Regions from separate parts of the Homo sapiens genome. Here region 2 is linked to region 1. The links are contacts of gene promoters, found by promoter capture Hi-C in blood cells and fetal thymus (Javierre and others, 2016). All regions are on one chromosome and are shown on one strand. The core of a region is centred on a gene start or on the middle of the fragment in contact, and the rest is flanking DNA. Distances in the headings are between cores, read along the strand shown.

Region 1 (2,700 bases), core at 191-2,690:
ACTCCAACTCAAATCTCAGGATTAAACATGGCTATTGTGAAGGACCAGAAGACACCTAAAGGACAGCATGGCAGAACACATAACATCTGGAACTTCAAAGTTGTATGACCATGGCAGTGGATATACATAACATATATGGCCTTATCATTTTCCTCTCTCAAATCCTTCGATGGCTTTTTAAAGACAAAGCCTCATCCTTAATCTTGCCTACAAAGGCTGCATAAAAAACCTGTAGCTAGGTCCCATGATGCACGCCTGTAGTTCCCATTACTCAGCCGGCTGCAGCAGGAGAATCGCTTGAGCCCAGGAGTTCAACGCAGACCTGGGCAACATAGCTAAACCCTATCATTATTTAGAACAAACAAACAAAAACAACAACAAAAACCACTTGCCTCCATCTACTTACAACCTCATCTCACAGTACTCTCCACTTTACTTTCTGAACTTTAGCCAGACTTAGGCCTTCTTTCCAGTTCCGTTTTTGCACAAGCAGATCTGCACGTAATGTTGTTTTAAATATCCTACTACCCCAAACTAGTTCGCTCTTATCTTTTAGCTGTCAGTCCAAAGATTCCCTAAGATGTCTCCATCCTGTGGCAGCAGACTATAAGGCCGTTTTATTACATTATATTTGAACAATACAGAATAGTGTAATGAGCATGGATTCTAGACTCATAAATATGTCCTTAGGCATATTTATTTAAGCCCTTCATGTCTCGGTTTCTTCACCTGTAAATTGTACTTGTAAGGTTATTGAAAAGATTAAAAGAGATAAAGGATGTAAGCACTTAGAACTGTGTTGATAACGCAATTCAAAGGGCCCAACATATGTCGGTCATGATCACATTTACTTAATTTGTAGTCACTATCGTCCCCTCTCTCCCCTCTAGCCTCCGGAGTACCCCTGCTCCTCTAGCCCAGAGGCCACACCGGCCTGGTCCTTTTTTGTATTCCTAGCCTCAGCACAGGGTTCGGAACATACCAGGCCTTCAATATTATGTTTTTTAAAAATGACAAAAGCCTTGTGTCCCAATTTTGCTTTATTAGCCGAACGATCTCAAGCAAATCACTCAAACCACCTACGCCTCGTTTACCCTTCTGTGAAATGTAATAGCTACCTCAGAGAGGTTTTGTGTTAAATAAGGCGATGTACCTACAAAAGCACACTGCACATCTTAAAATGCCGTACAAACCGTAGATGTTTATTAATAAACCGGAGTCCGTGTCTTCCCTCCCCTCAGGCACGTCTCGTCCCGACCCCTCCCTCCTCCCAGCCCACACCCTTACTGCGCCCTTGGCCCTGGGTCCCTTGGGATTGCAAGCGTGGGAGCCTCGGCCCCGCGCAGCTCCCTCCGGCGTCCCGCGCCCTCCTTCCTTCCTCGCCAGGACGGACGCACTTCCGGCGGATGTGGGGGCCAGCCCTCGGAAACGGAAGTGAGCGGCGGGGTCGACTGACGGTAACGGGGCAGAGAGGCTGTTCGCAGAGCTGCGGAAGATGGTGAGTGGGTACCCGGGCGGCTGGAGTTCCACGCGGGCTCGGGACCGTGGCTCGGCAGAAACAGGCAGTCGCCTCCCAACCCGTCCCCGGTGGCGGCGGCGGCGGCAGCGTGGGGCTGAGGCCGGCCTCAGGCGCCATAATCTGTCGAGTCACGGGGTTTGGGTGGGTCGTGACTGTCGCCGGGGCCCGGCACTAGTCCCACTAGCAGTGCTTCGGCTTCATCCTGCTCCTCTTAGCTCGGTTTGCGCCCTTCCATCCCTTAGACCCCAGCAGGCCCAGACCTCCTCCCCTTACTTGGCGCAGAAGTGGAAAAGGCAGCCGTGAAAGTGCAACGTTCTGTGGGGTGGCGCTGGCGACCCTTTCCTTGACGGGTAACCTCTGGGAGCCCAGAGCTCTCAGACTCCTCATCTCCCCCAGCCCCCGCCCTTGTAACTGCCTAGTAAACAGCCCACAACTATAGGTCGCATTTGTGTAACGCAGCTTTGCTCTACAAACTTTTTTGAGAGCTTGTAGTGTGCTAGATGTTAGAGGGGAAAAAATCAGACAGTTGCTATTCCCTGTTTGCCAGTATTGTTAGTATATCTCCTCCCTCCTTCTCCTCCCCACCACTTTCTCTTTCTTTTTAACTTAGAAGTTGTGGTATTTGAGAAGAACACTGAGTCACCATTGCCACAGACTCTGATATCGGTACTGCTGGTAGGCCATCCATCCAAATCTAGAAAGTTTCTATTGGTAAATACTGCTAATCGTTATCTAAAAAGTTTTTTAGGCACTCTCAAATGTAACTAGTAGTTAGGTTTTCGTAGATTTGCCTTTCTCGGCTCCTTCCTTTATTAGAAACAGCAAGTACTAATCTTGATATTTTACAGAAGGAAATTGGGAAAAATGACAATAACAGAATCCAGAAGTCAGAATTCACCTTTTCTTTGTGCGTTGAAACCTTGTTACTTTACAATAAAGCAGTCCAGAAGGAGGAGAATGTTCATATAGGGAAGTAATAGAAGATACATTTGGAAAGCAACAATCACACATCTCTGCTGAAGGTCCCCAACTTCTGGTGGTTCAACAATCTTCTGACTTTATGATGGTGTGAAATCCATACACAGTCAGTAGAGGCCATATTTGAGTACCAATACAGCCATTCTGTTTTTCACTTTCAGTACAGTATTCAATAAATTACATGAGATACCCAGTACTTTTTA
Region 2 (2,700 bases), core at 52-2,551, 3.4 Mb before region 1:
ATTGAATTACCTCCCAAAGGCTCCATCTCCAAATACCAACATATTGGGGTGGGGTAGGGCTTTAACATATGGATTGGGGGAGGAGGGAAATAGTTCAGTCCACAGCTGGTGGCAATGCCCAAGCTCAACGGAAGATTAAAGTACTGAATTAGGGAGAACTGTGAGATGAGGTTAGAAAGACTAATCATACGGAGGTCATCAAGTGCCAAACTAAAGAGCCACTGGGCTTTTTAGATCATAAATCCGGGGGTTGCTTATGGGATGGATTTTGTTAGAGATCACGAGTAGGAAAACCATTTGGGGGAGTAATGTAACAATCCCTGAGGGAAAAATAAAAACTAACACTATGATGACAACCCTCGAATGCACCACCACCAGGAAGCCTTTCCTGATGCTTCGCCAGAGAGGTTCTCTTTAAACGCGAATTTTTCTTGAGTTATCCTAGAAATGTAAGTTACACCTCACATTTCGCCTTCTTTCGTACATGTTCCTGTGCGTTTCCTAATCCTTCCACTTTGTAGTTCCTCCAGCACCGGTTGTGTCCGAGGGCCCTTCTGGCGGAGCCACACTCGCTCGGCCCAAGGTCCCGCCCTCCAGCATCAGGATGCACGGACAGTATTTGTGGACTTGACCGCATCCCAGGAAATCCAGCGGGCCTGGCCACTTCTGGGCGCCAGGACCACAGCCGGCCACCCCACGGACGCCTGGGACGCTCTTCTGGGCCCCCTTCGGGGCTGGGCGTCGGGCTCGCAACAACTGCGACCAACTGGCTCCGCGAGGCCTGGGGCGCAGGGGTGGGGCTCACGTCGTGGGACGGTTGCATGGATTATTTTCGATTGATTTCCGAACCTTCAGGAAGCAGACACGCTCCCCTTCCTTCTTAGGGATGGGGCGGCAGCCAACGAAAGCCCGAAGCCGCCTCCTTTTCTGAGTGGGGAGCTTAGAGATGCTCAGGAGGGACCTCCCCGATTCTGCGATTCTGAGCATCAATTTTGGCAGGAGGCTAGATAGAAGTAGCAATTGACATTCATCACCCTAAAGTGCGGATTATGTCAGTACAGATGCTACGATAGAAGAACTAAAAAATGACAGAAATGGTTTTACTGTTTTTAAACTCTGGGAGCCTACTCCTTTAAGAGATTAGGCAGTACGCCTATTCTCGCCTGGTCCCAGCGTACCTTGCGCGGCTCGCCGTCCCCCACTCACGTACCAGGGCTCATTGCGTGACGGTTACACTTCCGGCGGGCTACGTGCGCGCGGCGAGCGCCGGGCGTACTTTTGCGTGGTTGCTCCACCCCCTCAGCCTTGCCTTCGCCGCCGTTGGGGCTGGAAGTTCCCGCCAGGTCCGTGCCGGGCGAGAGAGATGCTGCCCGGCCCGCCTCGGCTTTGAGGCGAGAGAAGTGTCCCAGACCCATTTCGCCTTGCTGACGGCGTCGAGCCCTGGCCAGACATGTCCACAGGGTTCTCCTTCGGGTCCGGGACTCTGGGCTCCACCACCGTGGCCGCCGGCGGGACCAGCACAGGCGGCGTTTTCTCCTTCGGAACGGGAGCGTCTAGGTAACCGCACTTTCTCGCCTTCCTGGGCCGGATTCACCCCCACCCCCACCCCCGCAAAGCTCCCTTGGTGTCCCCATCCTGTCTCTTCCCTCTGGCTTCCTTCCCAGTGGGGCTGGAGAGAAGCACTTAATCTAGCCGCCCGGCGTCGTAGGCCTCTCGCCGCGGTACCCGGGCCCAGCGCGGCCTGGTGAAGTGGAGGGCGGGATGGGTTCTGTGCTGTGAGGTTTCCAGAATCCACGTATAGTTCAGGCATTATTTGGACCTAGTGGGGTCTTGACTGCGTGGAAGGGCCTTGGGGTCTACCCCGGAGCTTTAGCGATGTGTCAGTCTTAGGCATAGAATGAACATTGAATGAATGAATGAAATTATAGCATACTGTGGAGTTTTATGATAGATAATTCCGATTTCATTGCAGCATTTGCGGTTTTGGATATGACGGTGTTTTAATAACTTTGTGGTTTTTAACCAGCTTTTCAAGCTTTTGTGCCACATGGGACCTTATCTGTTTTTGTTAAAAAAAACAAAAACACTTTTTTACAGTGTTTATTAGTGGTAATTTTCTGCAGTATGTGCAGATTAGTATATCTGATGCGAGAATGTTGTGTTGTAATAACTCAATTTGTCTTTTACTTAAATTACAAAACGTAGGTAGCATGTTCCTTGTTTTTGTGCAACCCATTAGTTCAGGTGGCGACAAAAACATAACTATCCAGAAAGAAACAAAGTGGTGAGACATTTTAATGAGAGATTTAAGCTTTAGAACTCAATTTTTTTTAAGATAAAGGTGGAGGGGTTCATAAAGTTAAGGAGTGTGCACACTGTCAACAAGATACTTCCTGAAGCTTAAAAGATGTGGCTGTAGATTTAAAAGGCAAATACTTAAGCATGACCTGCAGTTTAAAAAGGGAGGGAGGAGGAACCACGGACTACACAGTCAATTCAGAAATTTGAATTTTCATCCATACCTCCGTTATTCTTACTCTACTCGCTCAACAACAGGTTCTGATAATGTTACTTCTGCCATTTCTGTTTGTCTTTATTTCCAGTTCCACAACCCTGCTTAGGCTATTGTCATTCGTGGAACAAATATTTATTGGACAGATTCCCATGTGCAAGGCTCTGTTTTAGGTATTAAGAGTCTTG

Evidence for each region. The method cuts DNA at HindIII sites, captures the fragments that hold promoters and counts their contacts. A CHiCAGO score of 5 or more calls a contact.
Region 2: a contact is called between the fragment with the promoter of NUP58 here and the fragment with the promoter of POMP in region 1, in 2 of 17 cell types (naive CD8 T cells and naive CD4 T cells). The highest score is 8.2, in naive CD8 T cells.

What each region holds. Positions count from the first base shown.
Region 1 is chr13:28,657,690-28,660,389 of GRCh38, forward strand. It overlaps POMP (proteasome maturation protein), which reads left to right and starts at 1,441. Exons shown (of 6, transcript NM_015932.6): 1 at 1,441-1,498. The coding sequence starts at 1,496. RefSeq lists an enhancer at 934-1,093 and a silencer at 1,314-1,373. The HindIII fragment of the contact is 5,788 bases long and covers 1-2,700 here.
Region 2 is chr13:25,300,324-25,303,023 of GRCh38, forward strand. It overlaps NUP58 (nucleoporin 58), which reads left to right and starts at 1,302. Exons shown (of 16, transcript NM_014089.4): 1 at 1,302-1,557. The coding sequence starts at 1,451. RefSeq lists enhancers at 958-1,197, 1,358-1,437, 1,548-1,597. The HindIII fragment of the contact is 2,784 bases long and covers 1-2,033 here.